2 separate regions of the Homo sapiens genome follow, and region 1 is linked to region 2. Evidence: promoter capture Hi-C in 16 types of primary human blood cells and fetal thymus (Javierre and others, 2016). All regions are on one chromosome and are shown on one strand. The core of a region is centred on a gene start or on the middle of the fragment in contact, and the rest is flanking DNA. Distances in the headings are between cores, read along the strand shown.

Region 1 (6,719 bases), core at 2,361-4,860, 560 kb before region 2:
TCTCCCCAAGTAATTTTGTTCATTCCCATGACTTGACATGAAATCTATGTGCTCTCACTCTTAGACGTATTGCTCCTAAATGTACATTTCTTTGGAATTCCACATTTGCATCTCTAAAGTTGATTCTTGGTCTTGCTTGACATCTGTGCCTCCTTCAGTCTCTCCCCAGGTTAAATGTGATCTTCATCCTCCCTCTCCCTTATCTCTGGTATCTGTTCTGTCACCATATTCATTGATTATATCTGCAGGTGTATCTCCAGTGTCCCTGCACTAGCCCTGGCCACCTCCCTATTTATAATCACTTCACTTCTGATGCCCCCAGTTCTATTCTTATGGTAATCAGCAGAGTGATCTTCTGAAAATGTAAATTAAGTCACGTGTGAAAGTATACCTTGTCAGGAAACACGTCACTGGTTTCCCACTGACTGAGAGTAAAGTGCTCATTTCCTCGAGCCTTAGGGCCCAGGTGCAGCCGACTTCTACCTGCCTCTCCAGCCCTAGCTGGAGGGTCCTTTCTCTCTTGTTCACTGCAAGGCAGCCACACTGGCCCTCTCCCTCCAGTTCCTGATGGCTCAGTGTTCTTGGCTGCCTCAGGACCTTGGCATCCATTCCTACAGCTCCTCATTTCATTCCTACACATCCTTTCGGTCTCAGCTTAAATTTCACTACCCCCAAAATATTAACAATTCCATTGCCTCTCTTTATTCCTTTTATTTTCTCCATTAATACTACCCATTTTCTTCATAACGCCCATCACAGTGGTGATTATAGCAACATTTGTGTCTTACTTTCATGGCTTGTCTCTCGACCAGGTCTTTTTGGTTCACAGCTGCAGCTTCAGTCCTGGCTCATGGTAGATGCTCAAGAAATAATTATTGTTGTACAATAGCTAATGGTTAATGAGCTCTTGCTCTGTACCAGGCAGCCTTCTAAGTACTTTATGTTATTTAATCTTCACAAAAGCCCTAGTCTACACTTTACAGAAAAAGAAATGGAGGCACTGAGAGTCGAAGTGACTTATCCAAGCCCACCCAGCCAGGAAGTGATACAACTTGGATGTGAAATCCAGGCCCTAAGCCCTTAATTGCCTTGCTCGGCTGCCACTGAAGAGTGAATGAACACAGTAGGCTCTCAGGAAATGAAGCTGCCTGGGTGGTAGTTTCCACTCACTTCTCTTGGAACTGATCAGCAAGGGCACCTAGAACCTGTGGGCCCCTCTTCTACCATAGCACCCTTATAACATGGCCCTCCATCCCAGCCTCCTCCAGCTGGTAGGGCAGAAGGACACTGGAGCCTCAGGTAGTTTGGGGGTTGAGGGAGGACAGTGGTGTAGACACTTGGGGAAGCTGTCCCAGGCCATTGGTGAGAAGTTCACCTTGGAGAGAGGATTCACAACCGAGGGGGTTGGGGATGGAGGTGTCGCCCGTGCCAGGGCAACATAAGTAGGGAGTGGGCTTGCCTGGGCATGTTCTGGGTGATGTGATTCAGGCCTTGCACATCTGCAACCCCAGGGAAAAGGGACCAGAGTGGAGGATAAGCAGGCTTAAAAAATGGCATTGAATTTTAAAAATTGCATTTCCTGAATCCCAAAGCAGAGGAAGCACCTCAGAAGACACAAAGGATGAGTGTGGAGAAGGCACTTGGTGGACACTGCTCCGTCTCTACTCTAAGTCTTTCTTTGCTCAGGCTGTTCACTTTGCCTCAAGCTCCCCTAACCAACACCCCTGCAGTCCCAGACCACACATCATGTTCTCTCTGCATCTTTCCCTTACCCGGGTTGACCACAACCTCTTTGGGCAAGGGATTGGGTTTTACTCATCCTTGAATCTCCAGGTCCTCCCATTGTGCTCCACGCTTGGTAGGTTCTTTCCTGTGTTTGTTGAAATGTTCGATCCATCAGACTCCCCCAGGATGAATTGGCTACTTTCTCCTCTGTGCTATCTTTCTAAACAGTACACATTTCTGTCAGAGTACCTGGCCTGTCGCAATTCAATATTTCTTTCTCTCTCTCTCTCTCTCTTTCTTTCTTTCTTTTTTTTTTTTTTTTTTTGAGACAGAGTTTCACTCTTGTTGCCCAGGCTGGAGTGCAATGGCGCAATCTCTGCTCACCACAACCTCGGTCTCCCGGGTTCAAGCGATTCTCCTACCTCAGCCTCCCGAGTAGCTGGGATTACAGGCATGCGCCACCACGCCCAGCTAATTTTTTGTATTTTTATTGGAGACGGGGTTTCTCCATGGTGATCAGGCTGGTCTCAACTCCCAACCTCAGGTGATCCGCCCACCTTGGCCTCTCAAAGTACTGGAATTACAGGTGCGAGCCACTGCGCCTGGTCAGCAATTAAGTATTTCTTTATTATTCTGCTGTCTCGGTTAGAATGCAAGCTCCTTGGGGACAGGAGCCATGTCAAAACCATCCTTGTATCTCAAATGTTCAGTGCTTTTGTTAGATGAATGAATGAATGGGTGATCTCCTTCTTTGCCAGTGCCCGAGAACCCTAGCTTCTCACAGGTGCTCCCCAAGCAGGTCTGACCCTGAAGCAGTGGCCCCAGAGGCAGAGGGTGGCTTCAGAGGTAGGGAGCTGGGCCCAGGAGAGGGCTCGCTACTGAGTGTTTCTTCTTGAAAACTTGCCCCAAACACACAAGACATAATGTTGTCTAAAGATTAGGTAAAGCTTTTAGGGATCAGACACATGCAGTTGCTTCCTAAACATAAAAAATTGCCATGAGTGTTCACTAGATGCCTGCCACTAGACCTAGATTTATTTCATTTTTGATACTTACAAATAAAGTATCATTGTTTTCATTATACAAATAAAGAAATGGAAGCTCAGAGAAGTGAAATGTCTTACCTAAGGTGGATGGAACCCAGTGTTCAGTTTCTTGGACACTACCAGGTTTTCTTCTCTTAGGGAAGAAAATAGGTCAGGTTATGCTTCCTTCCTGACTGTGGGGCCTCTTTCAACCAGGTTCCTCTTTATGGGACAGTCTTTTTTTGTGTGTGTGACGCCAGCCTCCCTAGGACCAGACTAGGTCTGAAGCCCCGGGCGAGATTTGCCAGATCTTATACTGACCACCAGGTGGTGCTGTTGGCCCAACGTATAGTCTTACAGCATCGGCCTGGGAAACGCTAGACTTGATCAGGAAAAAAGCTTGCCCTGTTGAAATAAGAGCTACCAGTCCTTGAGTCCTGCCATCTGTCTAAACTGTGTTTCCACAAGTCACCTCATTTGGGCTCTAAACAGCCCAAGAAAGTTGTCATCTCCATTCAACTGAGGGCTCAGAGAATTTATTATAAATAATTGGAGCTAGGTTCTCAGTTACAGGTTGAAGAGCCAGGGACTTGAAGCCAGGTCTGCTTGATTCCAAATCTTCAGATTCTTGGGGTTCAAAGGAAGTGAGGCCTCGCCTGTGAGTTGCACAGCTCCCTTCCAGCCTCTACCTTACCTGGACTGGGTGGGGATAGATTGTCTGGAAAATGCCTGTGCAATGACAGGCCCCTGGGCCAAGTTTTAAAGAACTCGGGTTTGCCAGGGTCCTGTGAGGGATGTGGGCCCCTCTATGCTACCGTAGGGCACTGTACCATTTCTTTTCTTGAGAGATGACATTATGCATTGACCTTTACCCACCTCAGCGATTCTCTAGGTGGAAACAGTATGCTCACCTTATAGTTATGGGATAATTCATGTGGCCCCTCTGGTAAATATCACCTGCATCTTCTTGTTTCTGGACTTATAAGTCATCTTTTCATTTTCCTCATTTTTCAAGCATGTTTTGGCCTGGATTGACTGTTGTCATTGCATAAATGGAAATTTAAAAAATCAATATTTTTTGGCCCTGTGTAAGACAATGGGAGATATAGGAAAGGCATTACCATTTAGTAGAATGAGAGTATAACACAGCATTAACAAAGTGAGTGCCCAGCCATTGACATCCTGGGAGACAATATGAGGCTGTTCTTGTGTTGCTATAAAGAAGTATCTGTGACTGGGTAATTTATGAAGAAAAGAGTTTTAATTGGCTCCCAGTTCCACAGGCTTTACAGGAGGCATGGGAATGCCTTAGGAAGCTTACAGTCATGGCGGAAGACGAAGAGGGAGCAGGTATTTCACATGGTGAAAGCAGGAGCCAGAGAGTGAGAGTGCGGGGAAGGAGGTGTCGCACGCTTTTAAATGACTGGACTCTCCTGTGAACTCGGAGAGGAGCACACTTAGCACCAAAGGGATGGCCTAAACCATGCATGAGGGATCCACCGCTATGATCCAAACACCTCCCACCAGGCTCTACTTCCAACATTGGGGATTACATTTCAACATGATATTTGGGTGGGGACAAATATCCAAATTATAGCAGAAACTGATGGGAATGTGGCCCAGGCATGGTCCCACTGGCCATGATGAAAGCTTTGGTGTATGGTCTAGGATGTGCTAGGGAAGGTGAGTGGGTTGTTTCTAATTCCCAAAACAGCCTGTGAGAAAGGTGTTATTGTCCTCATTTTATAGATGAGGAGGGAACACCCAGTATCCTTGTTCAGAGTATGGGATCTGGAGTTGGGTACCTAGATTTAAACCTACCTCTTCCACTGATTGACAGGCTGAGGTCTGCCTGGCCCATCTCTGTACTTGTAGGTGCTCCAAGGTGCCTCCTACTTCTGCAGCCATCAGCCTCGGACCCTCAGGAGCCCCAAGGGGGTTACTTAGAAGGGGAGGTCCAGGCAAGAGAGGGGTCAGCCTGGCGAAGATCAGACTTGAGCTGAGTGTTTTCAGGTGCCCTCAGGGCGGCCTTTGGGATCTGGGACTTTTGACTGCCTGTTTTGCATCCTACACATTTCCCACCTCCTGTGGCCCCTGGATTCTTAGCCTTCCTATGTCTCTTTGCCCAGACTGGTAATTCCCATCTTCTTTTCCCAACTACCTGGAATCCCTACGACTTCTTGCTCTTTATACTCTTCCCTGCAACCTCAAAAAAGGGGCTGGGTATGGTAGCTCATGCCTGTAATCCTAGCACTTTGGGAGGCCGAGGCGAGAGGATCACTTGAGGCCAAGAGTTCAAGACCAACCTGGGCAACATGGTGGGATGTCATCTGTATGAAACATGAAAACAATAACCTGGTGTGGTGATGCATGCTTGTGGTCCCAGCTACTTGGGAGGCTGAGGCAGGAGGATCGCTCGATTCCAGGAGTTTGAGGCTGCAGTGAGCTATAATTGTGCCCCTGCACTCCAGCCTCGGTGACAGAGCAAGAGCTTGTCCCCCCATAAATGGAAAAAAGAGTCACTTGAGGTTGTCCTGCCCATCCTGTGGCCTCTTTGCGGGTCTGACCCTTCTGCTGGGACTTCATGAAGATGCTCTTCCTTCTCTTCCCTCAACTCCCCATATTCTCTTTGTCTAAATAATCAAATAGAAAATATCTGAAAAGAATCAAATGTTTGCTTGATTTTTCGGAAGAAAGTGGACCCCAGGTTTTTTCCAAGGGGACTCCTGGATGCTCCAGGCCTTTTGGCCAAGATGAACACTGCCTCCTAGTTGGGAATCTTTCTCAAATTCACTCCCTTTAGAGCTGGCTCCTCTCCTCAAAACTCCAGGCATCCCATCTTGTCCCCAAATGTCAGGACCAGGCTACACAGGAATCTGAGCAAGGAAGAGGCCTGTGTTCGGCTCAATTCCTGGAGCCCAACAGGACTTGATGATTCCCTCTGTTGTTAAACCCGAGCTAGGCATTTTCTAGTTATTATTTCTAATCCTCTAAACAACCCTGTAAGGTAGAGATAGTTGTCCCCATTTTACATATGAGTTAATAGGGTACAGAAAAGTATGGTTCTAGGAATCACACAAGGGTTTGCCAGGGTTTCTGTGGGGGGTATGTGGACATCTCTATGCCACTATAGAGCACTGTACCATTTTTTTTTCTTGAGAGATGATGTTATTCATTGGCCTTTTCCCACCTCAGCGACTCTCTTGGTGCAAACAACATGTTCACCTTATACTTACGGGATAATTCATGTGACCCTTCTGGAAAATATCACTTGCATTTTCTTGTTTCTGGACTTATAAGTCATCTTTCCTTTTAATTTTCCTTCTTTTTCAAGGAGATACATGTTGGCCTAGATTGTCAGTTGTAATTACATAAATGGAAATAAAAAATTCAATACTTTTTTATCCCTTGTAGGACAATTTACTCAGATACTCACTGGCAGAGTCAGATTCAGAGCCTACTTTGAAGCGCTTGTTCTTTCTACAGCTCCACAAGGCAGGAGCCTGGGGCAGGAGCACTGTGGAATGGACGATATATTTGTTTCCTAGGGCTGTTGTGACAAATAACTGCAGATCGAGTGGCTTACAACAGAAATTTGTTCCCTCACAGTTCAGGAGGCCAGAAGTCTGAAATCAAGGTGTCGGCAAGGCCAGACTCCCTCCAATGGCTCCAGCAGGATGTGTTAGTCTCTGCTAACTGCTCTAAAGAACTACCTGAAACTGGGTAATTTATGAAGAAATGAGGTTTCATTGACTCACAGTTCCACCGGCTTAACAGGAAGCATGACTGGGAGGCCTCAGGAAACTTACAATCATGACGGAAGGTGAAGGGAACCCAGCACCTTCTTCACATGGCGGTAGGAGAGAGTGAAGGGGGAAGTGCCACACACTTTTAAACCATCCGATGTTGTGAGAACTCGCTATCATGAGAACAGCAAGGGGGAAATCTGTGATCCAGTCACCTCCCACC
Region 2 (7,103 bases), core at 4,471-6,970:
CAGAATGATGACTTTCATTCAGGAGACAGCTGAAGTTTTCACACTAGACAGAATTCAACAAAACTGGCCCATTTCTTCCTCTTCTTCTACTTCTTCTTCCTCCTCCTCCTCTTCCTCTTCTTCTTTCTTCTTCTTCTGCTTTTTTTTTTTTTTTTTTTTTTGGCCTAGACCATTCCTAGATGGTGGTAAATATTTTCTATCAATAAGAATGCTAGGGAATCTTGTTAATGGGGCAACACAAATGACTAAATTGCTGTAAATAAAGCAATTCTATATTAGTTTACTTCTGATGGCATCAAGTATTCCTGATAATTATCCTACTTGAAATATGGTAATAATTTTAAAAGCTTTCACACATACCTTCCTTTTCTGTAGCTTTTCATGTGAGGCAGATCAAAATTCCCCAAAGCTTTTATTTTAGGGGGGAAAATACATGCGGTGTTTAGCAATTTTAGCCTCAGTAAAGTTAACCACACTTATAAAAAAATCATTTATTTTCAGCATAGGCTCCTCTATAACATCCCCTCCCTCCCCACATGCTGTGTTGTTGTCTGTCTTTACCCCCTTGAATCTGCTTGCTCAATTCATTTCAGCAGTTTCTTATTTTGATGGTACATTCCAAGAAAGCAGAGGCTGTTCTAGCTCCACTTGCTTTGTCCAAGCCCCCAGTGGCTTAATGAAGGCTGCTAGCACTGATAACAGGCAGCAGTGTTTTAGATTTGCTGACTTTTTCTTACAGTTTCATTTCATTTCATTTCTGCTAGGGCCGTAACCTCATCTAAGCACCAGGATGGAAGAAGGCAAATGGAAGGGAATCATTGTGGAGGCTAAGATTGCTTTTCTTCTTCCCTTTCTTTTTAAAAAGGTCTTGGGTTGGGAGGATGAGCCCATGTTGGAACTGGATTGTCATGCCACTTGAACTCAGTTACTGACCAACTTCTAGGAATTAGGCAAGATAACCACTGGGGTGTATGTGAGGGGAGTTGCTCAGCCTGTGAATTAGCTTGAGTGTTAGGGCACTGGGTGACTGATCCAACCCCGAGTCCATGGTGTTCAAATGGCTGAAGCATTCCCAGCAAGTGAAAAATTAGCACATCTGTTCATTGGATCAGTGGGAGGAGCCTAATGAGCCTGAAACACCATGGCAGATGCATCTGGCGGATTATTTAGCATTCCTGAAAGCTGGGGTGTTCTCCATGTAGGCTGGCTGGAAAGTTATGAGTGCCAAGAAATACATGGCACTATATTTATATTACCTGGAGTTGAAGAACTGTGTAACCCAGTTTCCACTGCTTAAGGCAATAAGCCTGAAAACGGGAGTGGAGAGGAACAGGTACCGGTAAAGCTAAAATTCGGATTCCACGTATCCAATCAAGTGAAGCCTCCACTGCTTTCTGACCTATAGATTTACACCTACAAATGTACCCTCAAGCCCTAGATTAAAACCTTGAGGTAGGTAAGTAATCACTTGTCAAGACTGAATGCATCAGTAGGTTTAAAGGAAGTGGAGTCCATGTAGGAGAGCCTATTTAAATGCCTCAATGGGAACTTGGAAATCCAAACACCTGAAGCCAAGCTGTGAGCTTCTTGAGTGCCAGGCAGGGAAATAGTCCCTGGTAAGACGCCATAGTCCACACATACTCCTAAAGTCTCGAGAGAGGAAGGAGGAGTCACCAGGAAGATCCATTTGCATCTGAACTGTGGTCTCTGGGAATAAGCAAGCATTGTTTCCCAGTGTGCTAATGATGGTCATCCGAGGGTATAAAGTGATGAGCAGCCCTGAGGTCCAGCTAATCCCTGATAGGTGTGTCCCAGAGAGACCCACTCAGCAGTGCACATTCAAGTTGTGGTGGTCAGATAAAGCTGCTGCATTGCTCATTTCCTGAGCCCTCTACATTCCTCCTCACCTGTTTTAGATAGCTGTCTCTGAGGTCTGAAATAGTTAAGAGCAAGTATTTGGGATTCCCTTCTTCTCTACCCAGGTACCATGCCCAGAGTCCCCATCCTCTCCCTTTGCTGTCCCCTGCCAGGTGACCAGTGTGTTTCTGCTGGCTCCCAGTGGCCTGAGATCTCTCACTGCAATATTCTACCAGTACAGTGCTCTCCTCAAAAGAACCTCTGAATCCCACTGTTTTGGAGACCTAGAGAGGCCAGCCTTTCCTATTTGGTAATATCTAAGCTAAATACAATAAAGCCATGCCAATTAAGGGAGAAGAATGGTGTAGATGGGGGGCTGGCAAACTTTTTCTGTAAAGTTCTGGCAAGTAAATATTTTGGCTTTTTGGGGCTACACTGTCTTTGTTGTAACTAATCAACTCTGCTGCCCTGGTGTGAAAGCAGCCACAGATAGTCTATAAATGAGTGAGCATGGCTGTGTTCAAATAAAACATTATTTATAAAAACAGAGGGCAAGCTAGGATTGCCCTGTGGGGCTGTAGTTTGCTAACTCTAAGCGTAAAAGAAAGAACATGAGGCAGGAACAAAGAACCTGGCCCCTAGACACAGCCCTGACCTTAACCAGCTGCAAGACTTGGCACAAGTCACCTTACTCCTTCCTTTTCCACCTCCCACGTTCCCAAAGGGAGCAAGGTATAAAGAGGATAATATATGAAACCCACCATGCATCTTACGTTTCCAGTTGTCTTGCTCATCTGTGGCCCATAGTGCAAAGGTCATGGGATTAGTTTGGACAATAACACTATCATTTTAAGCAGCTGCTTTGAGATAACATATGTAATCTCTCTGCTTTCATCTTCACAACTCATTGAGGTAGATAATGTGGTCCCTCTTTAAGAGGTGAGGAAACAGGCTGGGCGTGGTGGCTCACACCTGCAATCCCAGCACTTTGGGAGGCCAAGGTGGGTGGACCACTTGAGGCCAGGAGTTTGAGACAAGTCTGGCCAACATAGTGAAACCCTGTCTCTACTAAAAATACAACAACAAAAAAATTAGCCTGGAGTGTTGGTGCATGCCTGTAGTCCCAACTACTCGAGAGGTTGAGGCATGAGAATTGCTTGAACTCTGGAGGTGGAGGTTGTAGTGAGCCAAGATTGCACCACTGCACTCCAGCCTGGGTGACAGAGTGAGACTCTATCTCAAGGAAAAAAAAAAAAAAAAAGAGTGAGAGAGAGATGAGGAAATGGAGAAGAGGGAAGTTAAATAACTTGCCCAAATTACACAATAGGTCAGCCTCAAGATCAGGATTCAAATCCAGGCCTATCCAACCACATCCAAGTTTCCCAGACACCATGTGACTTCCCACGTAGGCTGCTTAGTTTCCAAGCCCTTCACTCTAACCAACCACTTTGCAGATATCATCTATAGAACACTATCCTCTGCGCATTTGCTGGAGTGATCAGATATAATTATTTCTATGTAAAAATTTATCCAATGGCTTCCCATTGGTCCCTATCATGACCTACAAGGCCCCTGTGATCTGTGTCATCTCACTCCAACCTTCTGACCTCTCCTCTCTGCTTCACTCTGTTTCTGCCCCAGGCACCTTGCTTTGCCTTAAGACATGCCAAGCTGACTCCCCAAATCAAGAGCCTCATACTTACGGGGGTCCTCAGACTCAAGCCAGTGCTATTCTCCCACTGTAAGCACAGCTTATTCCTTCACTTAATTGGTGCCTCAGCTTAACTGTCACCTCCTCAAAGAGAACCTTCCTGACCACGCTATCCAGAAAAAAGGAAAGTTATTGGCTTTCAATAATTACCTGTTGATTGTCGAATAAATGAAAGACTATATTGGAATGAAGAGACAGAGCGTGGCTGGCTTAGGACCAGCTGCTTGGCACATTCCAAGGGCAGAGATTCAGACCTCTCAGCAGTGAGAAGCCTTGTCTCATGGAAGAAAGGTAGCTTGCTTGCCTATATCAGAACAAATGACAGTACTGCTTTGTGTCATCTTCAAAAGTACCTAATACAGGAGAGGTGACACAAAACTGGGAGAGATAAGTCTCATGACTCTGAATAAATGTCAGAGTTACAAGGGACCTGAGGAGTCCTCTAAGGTCCAGCATTTTCCAGCTTCCAGTCTCTGAGCCACTTTTTGCTCTACTTCCTCCTCTGTCTGCCATGTTCCTTTTTGCAGCAGCTGTTCTTGACCAGACGGGCCTCCCTCTCCCAAACCCTCCTATCCCCCAGGGTTGAGGGGGGCATGAAGGCTTTAGATAACTACTTTTGTTGGGAAAACACTGTTCTCGTTTAAACTCTGTCACTTCATGGATGAAGAAACTGAGTGTTAGAGAACTGAAATAGTATGGTCGAAGTTCTGCCACTAATTAGTGTCAGACCTGAGCCTAGAGCCTAAGTCTTCTGACCACAAGACTAGTCCTAGCTCTACACTTCATGGAACAAATGGTAATCATACCCCACACTGTTCATTCAATTCAATTCTACAACCATGAATGGAGCCCCCCAAATGTACCTGGCCCCTAACTGGTTAGAATCAGGGGCAAAATATTGAAAACTGTATAGTTCCTGTCCCCAAAGGGTTTACTGAAAGTTTGAATACATAGTAAAAGGAATAAGTTTTTTTTTTTTTTTTTGGTGTTGGCATATTGGTTAATAGGTTAATGCAGTAGCCAGTTTAAACTCAGCAAGTACTTCAAGATACCTTCTCAGAGGTTCCATAAGCAGTTATGCTTAGGCCTCACTCTGGATGTGATTTTATAAGGAAGGAAGGAAAAAGAAAGAAAGGAAGGAAAAGAGAGAAAAGGAAAGGAAAACTGAACGGTGCTCTGGCCTCCTCCTTTCATGCCTTACTTGCACTTATCTCTGGTTTTTTCAAAGGTCTTAAGCTTCAGGTTCATTCCTGAAAAGCTTTTTGGTAAGGTCCTCACCTACTCTGAACTCCTGAGGGGAAGTGAAGTAGCTGAATAAGTTCCTCCTATTAGTATCCCCTACCAGGACCTCAGCCAGGACTTCAATAATAACCTTCTGAATTATTGTAGAAACCTGTGATTAGTATTAACCAAGTCAATAACAGGCATTTCCTCCATCAACCAAAGGCACATTTGAGGTCTTCTGGACCAATCTGGGTCAGTAACAGGGATTCCGATACCACCGACACAACCCACAGGGTTAGTATGTGTCAATCAGTTCTGTCCTGCCTAGCCCTGGCTCAGCTCTTCAGAGATGACCTCTTACAAAAAAAAAATCCACTTCCAACTTTAGAAAAAATTTTACTTCTCCATCATCATGACAATAAAGTCCATAAAAAGTGAGAGAGAGAGAAGGAGAGAATCCATGTGGGAGACAGTGAGAGCGTGTGAACAGTCAGAAATCATGAGCAAGAGTTGGCATTAACATGGAGACAAGTAATCCCTGGTTTCCTTGCTTTATATAAATAAAATGATAAGGATAAAAGAGAAAACAGACCATAAAGTAAAAACTTGTCTCTAGAAGCCTCTCTCCTTTAATCTCCCCATTCTCCCACCTCCCAAAAGACAAAGACACACATTACAGACCCAAACTACTTCAGATCAACATTTGCCTGTTTACAGAAATGAAACCAGCTTTCCCTCTGCCTGACCATGGATGCTCACCAGCTAACGCCCGAATTCACTCGCCCACTCAACTCACATTTTCCTGCCTGTTGAATGCAAAACAATGGCCTCCAAACACCAATTACCGATATTTAGAACTATTGTTTTCCTACCCTGGTTAGAGACGCCTCCATGAGAGACACAGGACTGAGCTCTTGAGTTGAAAGAGGACCTGGGGGGTGGAGGGAAACCCCTTTGCGAATGTCCACACGGTCCCGTTGCCAAGGGAACCCTGGCTTTATCCAGGGAGACTGAGCATGGCTGCCTCTCCCACGGCTTGGCTCCAGGAGTGTCCAGATTACAGTGCAGGGTCAAGAGGAGAGGCAGGGGAAGTGCCACACAGGCTTGGTGACAAAGAAATCGTTTTCAAAGAATGAAAGAAATGGTGAAAAATATCTTAGGAGGTGCCCGGTGGGGAGGGAATAAGTTGATTGATAATGCTGCGATCAGATTTGAGTTGGTCTTTGTGCCCCTGAAAGGGGTGGGATTCGAAAGTATATCTGAAAGGAGACAGGGTGGGAAGGAAAGAGAGAGTGAGACTGAGAGAGGAAAGGTTGAAAGGGGTGGGTTTTAGCCTCCTTCTGCGGATGCTGAATACTAATCAGGTAAACAATTATTTCATTAAGATGCTCAGTTGAAGCTTTGGAATGGATTATTTTGGCTACTGGATTGGTTGGAGGAGCTGTCTGGCTGTTTCCTAGAAGTCTGGTGGGAACTGGAGGGGAGATGATAATATAATCTTGATAGTCAAGCAAGTTTTTATTTGGCCTGCACTTTAAGGGCTGAGGCTGGCCTTTCTTTTCAGAGTGAAATCTCTTGGGAAGTGTGCCAAAGGAGGCACATTATGTGCATGCTTATTTTGAAAACCCATTTGTCAAAGGAGGAGTATGTTGAGCAGTGGTTTGGAGAGTTTGATTGGACCCTGATTCCTCACCTAGTGCCTGGCACAGTGTAGATGTTCAATAAAACATTTGCCACCTGAATGGTTGCTGAAGGAAAACTTGTTTCCAGCAACTTGCCTGTCCAGCAAGGATGAGTACTTTGAAGCAGTTGAGGCTCAGCAGATGTGGCTTACCTATTGACCCACAGATGAATGGGAACAAAATAGAGGACTTGAGCCCAGAGCCCCATTACCCTTGATCATGAATGTCTAATTGCTTTTTTAAAAATAGAGAATTCAAGGGAACTCTCTATCTAAATGTTGCTGCTACTATACAATAGGAAAAAAAAAGACAAGTAAATGAAAAGAAGTAATAATAGGTATCTCTGCAGGTGATCTGGGCTTAACATGGAGTGAGGATATTCGTACTGAGTTACAGTGAGGCACTCAGAAAAATTAAACACACACACACACACACACACACACACACACACACACACATATATATATATATATATTTCCCTGCAAGATGGTGAGCTTCTTATATTACTCATCTTCCAAGGCTTAGCTCTGGCATCAGTTACCCCAGGAACTTTCCATTACTATCCCCAACCTCAGCTTCCATAGTACTTTTTACAGTTTTTCCTCAGAATGCTTATCAAATGGATTTAG

Evidence for each region. The method cuts DNA at HindIII sites, captures the fragments that hold promoters and counts their contacts. A CHiCAGO score of 5 or more calls a contact.
Region 1: a fragment that was not itself captured here is called in contact with the fragment with the promoter of ANKFN1 in region 2 in 1 of 17 cell types (M0 macrophages); the score reaches 6.3 in M0 macrophages.

What each region holds. Positions count from the first base shown.
Region 1 is chr17:56,712,426-56,719,144 of GRCh38, reverse strand. No RefSeq gene overlaps it. Among named protein-coding and RNA genes, the nearest start is that of C17orf67, 120 kb to the left of the region's middle. The HindIII fragment of the contact is 917 bases long and covers 3,152-4,068 here.
Region 2 is chr17:56,152,092-56,159,194 of GRCh38, reverse strand. ANKFN1 (ankyrin repeat and fibronectin type III domain containing 1) reads right to left here and starts at 5,720. Exons shown (of 21, transcript NM_001370326.1): 1 at 5,665-5,720. RefSeq lists a silencer at 1,961-2,167. The HindIII fragment of the contact is 1,365 bases long and covers 4,829-6,193 here.